Regions from separate parts of the Homo sapiens genome. Here region 1 is linked to region 2. The links are contacts of gene promoters, found by promoter capture Hi-C in blood cells and fetal thymus (Javierre and others, 2016). All regions are on one chromosome and are shown on one strand. The core of a region is centred on a gene start or on the middle of the fragment in contact, and the rest is flanking DNA. Distances in the headings are between cores, read along the strand shown. Region 1 holds the start of MICU2 (mitochondrial calcium uptake 2). Region 2 holds the start of SUGT1 (SGT1 assembly cochaperone of MIS12 kinetochore complex).

Region 1 (6,546 bases), core at 3,364-5,863, about 31 Mb before region 2:
TTGTAGGAGGCACTATTTTGTTGGCCAGGTATAACAACACCATACATAGACTTGCAATTCAGAGTCTTTACGAATTTATCTTTTAAATGTCTTTTGAATTCATCCACTAATTTAGCTATCATCAACTCTCTCCTGAATTATTGCAACAGCTCCCTAAATCTAGTTTTCAATTCACTCCCTTTACTAAAGTCCCAATACTCTTTCCAAAGGTCAGAAACAAATTTGTGACATAGTATTACATGGACTTATTTATGCATTAAATAGTATGATATGGTGGCAGGTTTAAAAAGTGTTTTCATTTTGAAGAAGTGATACTCTGAGATACTTACAACAACTCTAATATAGTACGAAAATATCTGAGATTTCTGTTGATGACAAAGGCAGTTACTGTAATACCACTATAGCTTGTTGCCTACATTCATTAAATGAAGAAAACATTAAACAATTTATGAAAACAATGAAACAAAATTTTTGTCGATGAAATTTTGTCAATGAAAACAAAAATGTAATCTTTTTTCTAAGTTCATGGATCCCCTAAATTCTATGCATGGACATATGGGGGTCCATGAGGGTTAAGAAATCCTGCAATGGCTTCCTGCTGTCCTCAAGATAAAAATTCCTGTCACATGGCTTATGGGACACTTAATGATCTGATTCCCAGCCATTGCTCACACCCAATTTTGAACCCCATCTTTTGCAGCTCTTACTCTGCTGAGTCCAACTCTTACTTCCAGATCTCTGTAAAGCTATCTCCTTTGCCTAGAAAACTCTTCCCCTTCTCTTTGCCTAGCAAACTTGCAGTCACCCTCCAGGTGTCAACCTACACATAATTCCTTCAGGAAACCAAGACTTTGTGAAATACTCTTCCACTATGCTTCCACAGCACCCAGTATTTAACCCTACCACAGCATTTATCACATTGTATTAAAACTGCCGTTCCCCATTAAACTGTAAGCACATAAACTGTGTCTCTAATCCCTGCTCCTGGCATATTGTCTAGCACAGAGTAAGATTTCAAAACTTGTGAAAGGAAGAAAGTAAAGAAAAAAGGAAGGTTCCAATTTATCTACTGTTTCATGACATGAAACTCTACCCTTAATTCCCGACTGACCCTCACAAATGCAAGCTGTTGGTCACAATGGGAACTAGAAAAGTGTAGGACTCCATTAATATAAATTTATATTTTTATTGGAAAAAAGCACTTAGTGTAATGACTGAAAATGAAGGACATATTCACTATTATTATTATTATTATTTTGAGACGGAGTCTTGCTCTGTCGCCCAGGCTGGACTGCAGTGGCAGGATCTCGGCTCCCTGCAAGCTCCGCCTCCCAGATTCACGCCATTCTCCTGCCTCAGGCCCCCGAGTGGCTGGGACTACAGGCGCCCGCCACCACGCCCAGCTAATTTTTTGTATTTTTAGTAGAGACGGGGTTTCACTGTGTTAGCCAGGATGGTCTCGATCTCCTGACCTCGTGATCCGCCCATCTCGGCCTCCCAAAGTGCTGGGATTACAGGCGTGAGCCACCAGGCCCGGCCGGACATATTCACTATTATTATAGGGCCGCGTCAGGAAGAGTTTACCAACTTGGAATACCAATGTAACTATATTAATGCATAAAATTCTATTGCAATGAAAGATTCATCACAAGCCAAAATTCTGGTATATATCTAGCTCAACTATGCACACCTGTCCCTAAAGTAGTGGTAGTAGGCCCACTTCTTAGGGAAATGTATCAAAATCACTGAGGCGAAGGCAAAGTTTTCAACCTATAGGTCCTCTCAATCCTTCCTGTATTCAGCCACTGATGCTGAAAGGAATGTCCACCGTGGTGGCAAAAGGATGAGAACCACTGTCTCGGTCCAATAGCAGATCAGGCAAATGCTATGCCAACAGACCTTATAAAACGATTGATAATAAAATGGTTTCTGTATTACTTTAGCTAAGATTAAACTTACAAAGCTGCAGGGAAGGAGAGCTGAGAGTTGGGAAGAGAATCCAAAATAACTACACTAGTGTGAAGCTTTTAGAATCAAGTCAGGGATTTCAAAGGAGAAAGATTAGAAGTGGGCCAGAAAAAAAAAAAACAATTAGATGGATAAGTGAAATCAAGAGTCTACAAATTGCAGCTGGCGGGTGAGCGGTATTTAAGTCTTGTTCTAGGGATAGTGAGTGAATCACTTTAGTGGGAAGGTGCCTGAGTAGTGTCAGGTCAGAGTGTGACTATAAAAGGCTCTGAAAGACAAAGTTTTAAAATGTGCATTTTGGCCGGGCGCTGTGGCTCACGCCAGTAATCCCAGCACTCTGGGAGGCCAAGGCAGGCGGATCACGAGGTCAGGAGATCGAGACCATCCTGGCCAACATGGTGAAACCCCGGCTCTACTAACAATACAAAAAAAAATTAGCTGGACGTGGTGGCGTATGCCTGTAATCCTAGCTACTTGGGAGGCTGAGGTAGGAGAATTACTTGAACCGGGGAGTTAAGAGGTTGTAGTGAGCCGGGATCACGCCACTGCACTCCAGCCTGGGTGACAGAGACTCCATCTCAACAACAAAAAAAAAGTGCATTTTACTCTTGGCAAAATGAGACACTGAAGAAGGGTTTCTGAAGAAGGGTACACTGTGTGGTTAAAGTGATACTCCGGAGAAGATTAACCTAAGGGTCTTAAAAACAGGATGAATCGGCCGGGCGCAGTGGCTCACGCCTGTAATTCCAGCACTTAGGGAGGCCAAGGCGGGCGGATCACGAGGTCAGGAGATCGAGACCATCCTGGCTAATACGGTGAAACCCCGTCTCTACTAAAAACACAAAAAATTAGCCGGGCGCGATGGCGGGCGCCTGTAGTCCCAGCTACTCGGGAGGCTGAGGCAGGAGAATGGCGTGAACCCGGGAGGCGGAGCTTGCAGTAAGCCGAGATAGCGCCACTGCAGTCCGGCCTGGGCGACAGAGCGAGACTCCTCTCAAAAAAAACAAAAACAAAAACAAAAAACAAACAAAAAAACCAGGATGAATCTAGGGGAGAGAAACTAATGATGAATACACTGAACTCCTTGGCACAAGATTCACAAAAATGCTATAAAAACACTAGATAATAGATCTTTCCATTATATATGTTTACAATATAATTATAATGTATGTTAATACAAATAAGGAATATCAGTTGCCAATACTTAATTTTAACTCACAAGGCCTTCTTTCCTCTCTTTTTTGTTGTATCTGAATGTTCCTTGAGTTTTTCGCTAGAAAGGCATAATGTAAATCTAAAAAAGAAAATAATAAACTACTACTTTCAATTTTCAAAAAAGCTCATATGTAAAAACTTACTAAGTCTACAAAAATTTTAAAGCACTACTCATTCAAATTTTCAAATGCGTTACAACATCATTTATCCTGAAATAGGGAACTTGAATCTTTTTTTTTTTTTTTTGAGACGGAGTTTCGCTCTTGTAGCTCAGGCTGGAGTGCAATGGCTCGATCTTGGCTCACTGCAACCTCCGCCTCCCGGATTCAAGCGGTTCTCCTACTTCAGCCTCCCGCCACCACACCCAGCTAATTGTTTATATTTTTTAGTAGAGACCGGGGGGGCGGGGCTGGGGTGGGGAGCGGCTTCACCATGTTGGCCAGGCTGGTCTCGAACTCCTGACCTCAGGAGATCCACCCGCCTCGGCCTCCCAAAGCCCTGGGATTAAAGGCGTGTGCCACCGCGCCCGGCGGACTCTTGTCTTTAATAGATGGAGGTTTTAGGAGCAATTTTTGCTTAGAACTTATGGTCCACTAAGATATTAAGGTTTATAATCATGCAATAATGTTCCTTAAAGTTGATAATAAAATCTGGAAATCAACTGGTTAATTTTTGTGGCTGACACATTCGTGACTTAAAAAAGCAATCGACAGAACTTCATCATGCTATACAAAGAAAAGATCGTAAAACTTAGTTGCAAAGCTTAACAAAGGTATATCCCACAGGGGTAACTGGACGCAAACCACCTGCGGATGTGAATGCCACTTCACTGACCAGAGAGGTAGCAAGAGGCGAGGCGCAGTGAGATTCTGAATTAGGAGCCTCGAATTAAGACACGCCCACACTCATCACCACTAAATTAGTGCGGCCAGTTTTGTGGGCCGTGGTGTTCAGCGTCCGCGGGGTTCTCCCAAGGGAGGCAGAATCTCCGGTCACCAGCCTCGAAGGCCCTCGGGGACTCAGGCCGGGGGCCGGTCCAGGAAGGAGCGAGTCCCACCAGTCGCAGGGCGCTCCGATCCGCAGCGGCACCTCCACCCACGGCTCCGGGAGAGCCGCCCAGAGCCAAACCACTCCCCGCCTAAGGGCGTCAGGGGAGGGAGGAGCTTGACTGGGGCTAGCAGAAGGAGTTAGTCCTGTACCTGTGCGGAGACTGTAAAACTGCCATCCCGCGCCGCAACACTGACGCGGCTGTGGTGCCAGGCCGCTCCTGCTCCTGCCAGGGCCGCGCCGGCCACTGCCGCTGCCAAGGGGCCGGGACTCCGCACAGCCTGTCGGCTGACAGCGAGCCCCCGTCGCAGTTTTCCGCCCCAGGCCGCCACCCGCGCGCAGCTACCCGCAGCCGCCGCCATCTTTGCGGAAGCGCAGCTAGGCGGCGCTTCTCTCCCGGCGCCGCCGCCTACCGCTTGGGAACTCTCGCGACATCCGACAGGCTTCCGCCCCGCCTACCGGGCCTGCGCCGTGGGTGCGGTTGCTGAGGCGACGCTCGCAGCCGCAAGAGGTGGCCTTCGGTTCCGGGGCTGCCTTCTAAGGCTGTGGGGATGGGATGACAGGAAGAGTATCAAGACAGTATAATATGACTTCCTAGTCCAAAACAAGATAGTGCCCTCGGTTGTGTGGGCAGGTTTCTCCTTTTCATTTTTTCACCTTGTAAAACTGTGAAACGTTTTTTGAAATAGTCTCTTCTGCATCTGTGTTGTTCATGTCTTCCTATGCTTATAGTCTTGACTGTTCTTTCATTTCTGCTAAAACAACTCTCAGACAAGGCATTCTGTTTATTTCAGTCCCTCACTATTTGCTTATAATGAATTTAAATTCAGTTTCAACAAAAGGTTTGATAGTAGCTCTTATCCTACCTAGAACTAAAAGTCAGAGACAGCAGCACACCAGCCCCATGTCTCTATCATCAGGGACCCAGAGGTTTTCCCCAGTGCAGATTTAGAACGATACCTCCAGTCCTGGCTGTTGCATTGGTGATAAGTGATGTAGCTGAGGCAGACTACTTGGTTTTATTTAACAGCCTCCAATCCTCCATTCTTTGGTCTTCACTTTTCCTGAGTAACTCTTTTTAATAAACTCTTTGTTCAGCCTCTGAAATGTCCCCAGCTATTAGAAGCTTTAGTTGGGCATGCAGTAACGGAGCCAACATCAAAGGGGCCAAGACTCCTAATCACATAATCACTGCTGTCTTGAAGTTTTGCACAAAACAAAACTTCAAGAAACAAAAACAAAAACCTGTCACACGAAATCTAATTTGATCATTCAGTGGAAGTTCCGTGGATCCCTTTGTTATTATCTGCCCTTAATCCTTGCTCCCTTTCTCTTAGCCCGCTTGTCTAAATTAATCTGCAGTCAGAGGTTCCTCACTTTTCCGTCAGCTTCTGGACTTACTTTTCAGTGTGCCTTCCCAGGTAGGAAGTAGAGAGATGAGCCTCACTTCACCGACTTGTGAGCCAGACCTCAAGGTTTGAATCTTAGCTCTACCAGGATGATCACTGTGGTTTGGGGCAAATTATTTAATCTCTCTGAGTCTCCATTTTCTCATTTGTAAATAACTCACGATTTGGTAGATGATCACTGCTATTTGGGGTAAGGTATTTAATCTCTTTGAGTCTCAATTTTTTCATCTGTGAACAACCCTCTTACAGTTTGGGGTGGGGAAGCTAAATGAGATATTTTATATAAAGTGACTAGCCAAATGCCTGGCACATGGTAGGCTCATGACAGATGTGCGTTTACTGTGGTCAAGGTTTGGTTTACTTCTGCCCTGTGAACACAAATGAGCTTGACTGAATGTCCATGATTCCAGATCACTAGCCCATCTTAACCTGAGATTTTCCTGCTTTTTTGTATCTAGCCTGACTTTGTCAACCTCTGGACTGTTTTTCACCTCTGCTAACTCTGGTAGCTTTGGCACATGTCCTGCTTTTCTGGACTATTGACATCTAGCTTGTTTCCTGGTGATAATAGGACTTCCAGGATATTTTGGACACCCTGGATGTCTTACCTTGTAGTTTATTCTTGATTTCCAGAAACCACAGTCTTTACGTGTATACTTCTAACTGCCTCACACAGTTCCTCTAGGTATTTAATGAAACCTGGCATCTATTACTCAGTATTGCCTTAAGCCCAAGATAAGTTTAGATTCCCATTAAAACATGTAGCATATTTAAGAACATTGTCTTTCTCCCACAATTTGACATCCTTGTGGGTGAGATGTCTTCCTTTTCCCTGTTTCTCTAGCACCTAGCACAATGCCCAGCACGTAATAGACATTCAATGAGTGAGTAAATAAGTGAATAAATA
Region 2 (6,387 bases), core at 422-2,921:
GGCCATTTAGATAACATTTGAAAACTAACCAAGGTAATTCACAGTAACATTAAAAAATACAAATGAACATTTCAATAAAGGCAGAAAAAGCAGTTGATATTCAATGCTTTCCTCCTGATGTTATGACCAAGACAAGGAAGTCCATTATCACTGTTTTTATTCAATAGTGGAAACACTAGCCAGCAACAAAAGGCAAAAATAAATAAAAATAAAAGGTATAAAGGTTACAGAGAAGTTAAACCATCTTTATTCGTGGATTGCAAGATTTTGATCACAGAAATTCCGAAAGAATCTACAGAGTATTACAAATAACAAGGGAACTTAGCAAGATGCTTGCATATAAGGTCAGTATGTTAAAATCAATATTGTTTATTCTTACGAGTAGAATATAAAAAAGTCAAAATGCCATTTAACATTGTATACAAAACACTAAATACTCAAGAATAAATCTAATGAAAGATATATATGATCTCTATACTGCAATCTATCCAAGCACAGCTGCATTAAAATATAGATATATGTGCAATCTACAAAATATTGCCAGGAGAAATTAAAGACCGCTTAAATAAATGGTGGGGGAAGAATGATATTCATGGATTGAAGGACTTGTTGTTAAGATACTAGTTTTCCCAAACAGATCTATAGATTCAATGCGAGCCCAATAAAAAATCCCCCCCCTTTTTAACAAGCTAATTCCAAAATTCACCTAGAAATACAAAGGCCGTAGAATAAGCCAAAACAATCTTGGGAGAATAAGTTACAGGACTTAAAGATTTATTATAAAACTACATTAAATTAACATAGTTTGGTACTGGTATAAAGTTAGACAAAGACTACTCCCTCCCGCTCCTCAATCTGCCCCCATCCCTAGAACGTGCTGGCAGCTTTCTCCATCCGATCTGCAAGGGTTAAAGGGCGCTGAGGAAGGGCTGACCGACTGGGGTGGGAAACAAAGCGGCACTGAGATAACTTCAGGCCACCTTCCTCCCCTCAGTACCTTCGGATGAAAGGTTTCCCTTCTTGGTCTGGGAAGCCCACTAAGAAGAAAGCCTGGGCTGTGGCGTTCTGGGGAAGTGAATAGTACGGCCGCCGGGCGCGTCGCCCCAGGAACCAGAAGGCTTTTTGCCGCTATTAGTGCAGAATGACTTCCGGCAAGTCCCAGTCGTTTAGAATCCCCAGCCCAAAGATCGCGGGGATCCACGCGTCATCCGGGCCTCTGCTCCCGGAAGAGACCACGCAGCCGCTAAAGACGTAATGGAGGCGAAAGGGCTTGGCTAGCTGTGGCAGCCATGATAAAAACTAGGGAAAATGGGAGCTCGAAGTAGCTTCCGTTATTAACAGACATACAAACGCCCCTAACCGCCACACGTTCCTTAGGGATGACAGTACGTTACAAAAGTGCTTCTAAAGTACTACTGAAAGCTCCGTGGGAGTGCCCGCTGGCGTGGGCGCGGTGGAAGGGAGGAAGAACGTGTACGCCCCAGGCCTCCGTAACCATGGCTGCGAGGGGCGGGGACTGGGAGCGCGGGTCCTGGGCCGGGGTGCGGCTGGGAGGAATCGGTCCTCCACTGTCCCAGCCGGCCCCGCGCCGGCGTGTCGCCTCCCGTCCCCCTAGCAGCACGCTGCGTGGCTGCTCGCTGGCTATTTAGGACGGAAGCTCGGTTGGTGTTTCTCCAGAAGTTTCCCCCTTGGGCGGTGGTGGAGGTGGTAACCGTGATAGTAGCAGCTCCGGCGGCAGCAACAGCGACTACGAGGGATGGCGGCGGCTGCAGCAGGAACTGCAACATCCCAGAGGTGCATGTTTTTCTTTCCCTTTGGTATTTATTTTATCCCCCTTTCCTTGGCTAGTGAGCCCTGCTGAAGTCGTTGTTTTCCTGACAGGTTTTTCCAGAGCTTCTCGGATGCCCTAATCGACGAGGACCCCCAGGCGGCGTTAGAGGTGAGAGAGCCCATTTCTGCTTCCTCCACTCTTCTTAGGGGAGCTGGGCCACTTCGGGTCCCCGCTGACCCGCCTTCTCCCCGCACCGCCGGACAGGGACCCAGGCTCTTGTTGATGCTGCGTCTCAGCTCCGGTATTGAGATTCTCCGTCTCTTTTCTCTGTTACACGGTAGCCGCGTTACCCCAGACTCCTGTCTTGCCCTTTCCACTCCCTACAGCTCCTGAGAAAAACCTCCTCTATTTCTTGGGAGCATGGTTGGCATTTGTAGTTTGGCTGAAAGGATTTTTTTTTTAATGACATTTATGATTAGAGAAGTGGACTCTGGGCTCGATGAAGTTAATTTTTTCGTTTGACAATAATTCTTGCCATTCTTACGTAAAAGTGTCGGTATGAAGTCAGTCTACTGGAGCAAAACCCTTTTCCCTCACGTCCCTGAAACTTTCCAGATGTCTTATCACAATTCATTATTCACTCATTTGTATATTCATCAAAATTTTTTTTTGGAGTGGCTGTGTGCAAAGGCGCTGATTGCTGTGGGTTAAAGTCTTGGTTATATACTCAGCTAACCTAGAAATCACTTTTTGTAGGTGTGCAATGAAGGCAAACCATAAAGCTGTAAAGGAATGTAAAAGATCAAGAGTTAAATAATAAGAATTAAAGGAGAACCTAAAGATAAATGATGCTGCGGGTCACAGAATTTAGCCAGGAGTTTTTGTTTGTTTTTGCGTTAAATCACAGAAAAGAGGAAACCTGTTTTGCTGTTACGTTTAACAATTTGAGGCAAGACAGCGTCTTTTCTAGCTATGACTTTTATAAGAAATGTGCCACATGGTACTAGAGCCTCCGTTGAGGAGATCTTTGAGTGGAGATTTGAAGGAACAAGGGAATTAACTTGGAAGCTCTGGGGAAAGAATATTCCAGGCAGGACCAAGAGCCAGTGCAGATCTTGAGGTAGGAATGAAGTTGGCCTGTATGTGAAGCAACAAAAAGGCCCTTTTTATTAGAGGGCCCATTTGATTAAGAGAGGTTGGACAGGAAACTAGGAGCCAGGTCCTATAAGGCCTTTTAGGGTCCAGGTGTGTTTTTTACACCTAAATATATAGACCTTTAGATACTGGGAGTAAGGCTTCTGGGATGAGTTTGGGGATAATGTTACAGGAAGCACTGAGAATTTTTCTCCATAATTTCTTGTATTAGCTAGACAGCTATGACTTTTAATTTACATTTGTTATTGTCGTGTTAGACCTAGTGCTTCCTTTGGGAATCCAGTTTATATAAAAGTTGCTTTTAAACAGTATTAACATAATGAATTTTATTGTCACTTTCCATCTTCTTTTACTTTAAAAATTTTTATGGAGGCATATATGATTTATGTAAATAACACAGATTTTAAGTCTATAGTTTGATGAGTTTTCACATGTTTACACCACCAGATTAAGATACAGAGTATCTCCATTCATAATGCTCCTTAATGCGCCTTCTCAGCCAGTAATTCTTCTTACTGTCCTGCTGACTCCTGCTTTGACCTCCATCACCATCAGTTAGTTTTGTTTGTTCTTGACTCATAAACAGAATCATACAGTAGGTGCTTTATTGAATGTAGACACTCTTTTTGCTTTAATGATTACATAAGTATACATTCATATTGTGTGAAGTAGTAGTTCTTTCGCATTGCTGTGTAATATTCCATTGTATAAATATATGTTGTATAGCCGTAAGTACGGCGCAATTTATTCTAACAGTGGACATCTGGGTTATTTCTAGTTATTAGCTAACAAAAAGCTTCTGTGAATACTCTTGTACATGTATTTTGGTGAACACATGCATTTCTTTTGGTTGTATGTACCTAGGAGAAGAATTGCCTAGGATAGTCATGTGGCTAGTATTAGTACCTTGGTTTTTAATGTATGGCTCTTGGACCAGCATTATCAGCATCACCTGGCAATTCATTAGAAGTGCAGCCGGGCGCGGTGGCTCACGCCTATAGTCCCAGCACTCTGGGAGGCCGAGGCAGGCGGATCACGAGGTCAGGAATTCGAGACCAGCCTGGCCAACATGGTGAAACCCCGTCTCTATTAAAAATACAAAAAATTAGCCGGGCATGGTGGTGGGCAGCCGTAATCAGCTACCTGCGAGGCTGAGGCAGGAGAATCACTTGAACCCTGGAGGTGGAGGTTACAGTGAGCTGAGATCGCGCCATTGCACTCCAGCCCAGGCGACAGTGAGGCCAGGCCATCAAAGGCATTAAATCCCAGCACAGGGTTTTCAGTTTTATCATATGATTATGGAGATCCGTCAAGAATTTGGAGGAAGGAAAATGAAATTTTCTGAATTACAAAACCTACTTTAAAAGCAGAGTAGATAGCGAATTGGAGGAGGCACAAGGGATAGTGGATAGCAGGAAGATGGTAGTGCAGACCGGGTCAAAGATGAATATTTGCATGTAGGGCAGTGATTGAGGGCATGGAGGTGAGTTGTTTTATGTAAAATGCACCGGACTTGGTGACGATTAGAATATAAGGGATGTCTCCTGAGTTTCTGGCTGGGGGAATGTTGTAGGAACTGGTGCCATTCATTTAGATAGCACTTAGGATGATAGCACTTAGAAGATTGCCTTCAGCATGGGGGAATAGGTTTGAGGATAGAAAGTAGTTTTAGATTGTGAATATTTGTATATGAGTTGCCTCTGGGACATTTCAGGTAAAGTTTAGAGAAAACTATATGCTGATGTTGCCCAGGACCACTGTCTAGGCTCAAGATAGACTTGAGTCATCAGCATGCATCAACACATATGTGAAGCCCCCCAGTAGTTAAGGAATCAAAGAATGTTTGTAGAGGGGAAGAAGTCTTAAGTACTGAGCCCAAGGAGAACATTAGTTTTTAAGAGGCAGCAGAATGGTAAGCTGAAAGGCCTGGTTATTATTGTCAAGGGCCACAGAGAGATCAAGTCAGATAGGAATCAGTTGGATTTTATAAGGGGTTATTAGTGACTTTGAGAAGATTAAGACTAGAGAGGCAAATATTTTTGTATTCTATGGCAAAGGAGATGCAGTCAAAGTAGAGACTGGGGAAAAGGCTGAAAAAAGTCTGCAAGAAGAAAAATCAATACTTTTCATTGAGTGATTACTGGATGTCACATACAGATCTAGGCAAGCCCAACACCCTGGAGTCATCTTCAGTTTCTCTTATCCCACATGTTCACCCATTAGCAAGTCTCTCTGCTTCTAATATGTTCCAACTTAATCGTATTTCTTTTCATCACCTCTGTGGCTAACATCCTTTTCTAGCCTAGACTTAATGTAATAGTTTCCTAAGAAGTCTCCGTTTCCAGTCTTGATTTGATAATGTATTTACCATACTGCAGCCAGAATGACATTAAAAAAAAGTAAATTGGACCATGTTCCCCTTACTAACAGTGAACTTTCCATGGCTTTCCATCAAACGTAAGGTCCAAATTCCTTATAACTGCCTGCAAGCTACAAAGTGAGGCCCTTAAAGTAGCATCTTACAGCTTCTTTGCTCTCTTGATTTGAGCCTTACTTTCTGTTGATTGACTGTAACCCCATGTGAGTTGAGGAGCATCTGTATATGTTGCTTTCTGAGAGTCACACTACTAGGTTAAAGCAAAGTCAATGATACATGTGGCTCTTGAAATAATTTTACCATTTAAGAAAACTACCAAATCCCTAGAGTTTGTAGGCAGTTGGCAGAAAATAAAAGTGTTCCTGCACTTGTCTTTGATCTCCCTAATTGTGTAATCTCTTACATCATTATTTTTCCAGCTACCACACCTATATGTTGTGACTGCACAAGTTAAAAAAGTTTCAATCTCTAATGTTAACTCTTGGTAGTTGACATAGCCATCTATTAGATTGTATCTGGGCTTTGAACAGAATATTTAGTTGGGTTTTATTAGAGTTGTGTGCTATTGTTAGAGGCTAGGAGAGGGCCAGGTACACTTGATTGTGTATGTATTGATTGTCTTAACCTCCCTGAGTGCTAGATTTAACTTCTGGTCTTTTTTTATTGCACAGCTTAACATTTTCTAGGAATCTCAAATTCTATATGGTGTTTGAATCTTCTTCAAATTAGTAGGAGGAAATCTGTAATGGTCAATGTGTAACAATTAAACTCTTCAGAATATATGAGCTGATAATAATGATCATTTATTAAGTTCTATAGACCAGGAACTAAAAGCTTTACGGTACAGAGATGCTACATTAGATTGCCTACTTTTGGGAGGAGGGGCAAGAGAAGTGGGGGAGATATTGATCCTTTTATAAGGAAAAACTCCAATATTATATCCGTGTTATCTTTCCTCCAAATAGCTTCTGACAATAAGTTACTTGATTAAAAATTATGTTTTAATTAGAATTTGATGGCTTCTTACAAACTTTTACTGACGCTCCACATGTTTGTTTTTGTAGGAGCTGACTAAGGCTTTGGA

What was found. Contacts are between HindIII fragments. The CHiCAGO score rates a contact against its expected background, and 5 or more counts as called.
Region 1: a contact is called between the fragment with the promoter of MICU2 here and the fragment with the promoter of SUGT1 in region 2, in 4 of 17 cell types (total CD8 T cells, total CD4 T cells, non-activated CD4 T cells and 1 more). The highest score is 17.8, in total CD8 T cells.

The regions. Positions count from the first base shown.
Region 1 is chr13:21,599,557-21,606,102 of GRCh38, forward strand. MICU2 (mitochondrial calcium uptake 2) reads right to left here and starts at 4,614. Exons shown (of 12, transcript NM_152726.3): 1 at 4,383-4,614. The coding sequence starts at 4,592. RefSeq lists enhancers at 3,708-4,327, 4,328-4,946, 4,728-4,797 and a silencer at 4,348-4,557. The HindIII fragment of the contact is 1,411 bases long and covers 3,944-5,354 here.
Region 2 is chr13:52,651,165-52,657,551 of GRCh38, forward strand. It overlaps SUGT1 (SGT1 assembly cochaperone of MIS12 kinetochore complex), which reads left to right and starts at 1,672. Exons shown (of 13, transcript NM_006704.5): 1 at 1,672-1,794; 2 at 1,882-1,939; 3 at 6,368-6,387. The coding sequence starts at 1,757. SUGT1-DT (SUGT1 divergent transcript) reads right to left here and starts at 1,143. Exons shown (of 1, transcript NR_170300.1): 1 at 141-1,143. RefSeq lists enhancers at 973-1,312, 1,422-1,923, 2,033-2,152 and a silencer at 1,403-1,672. The HindIII fragment of the contact is 4,517 bases long and covers 1-3,720 here.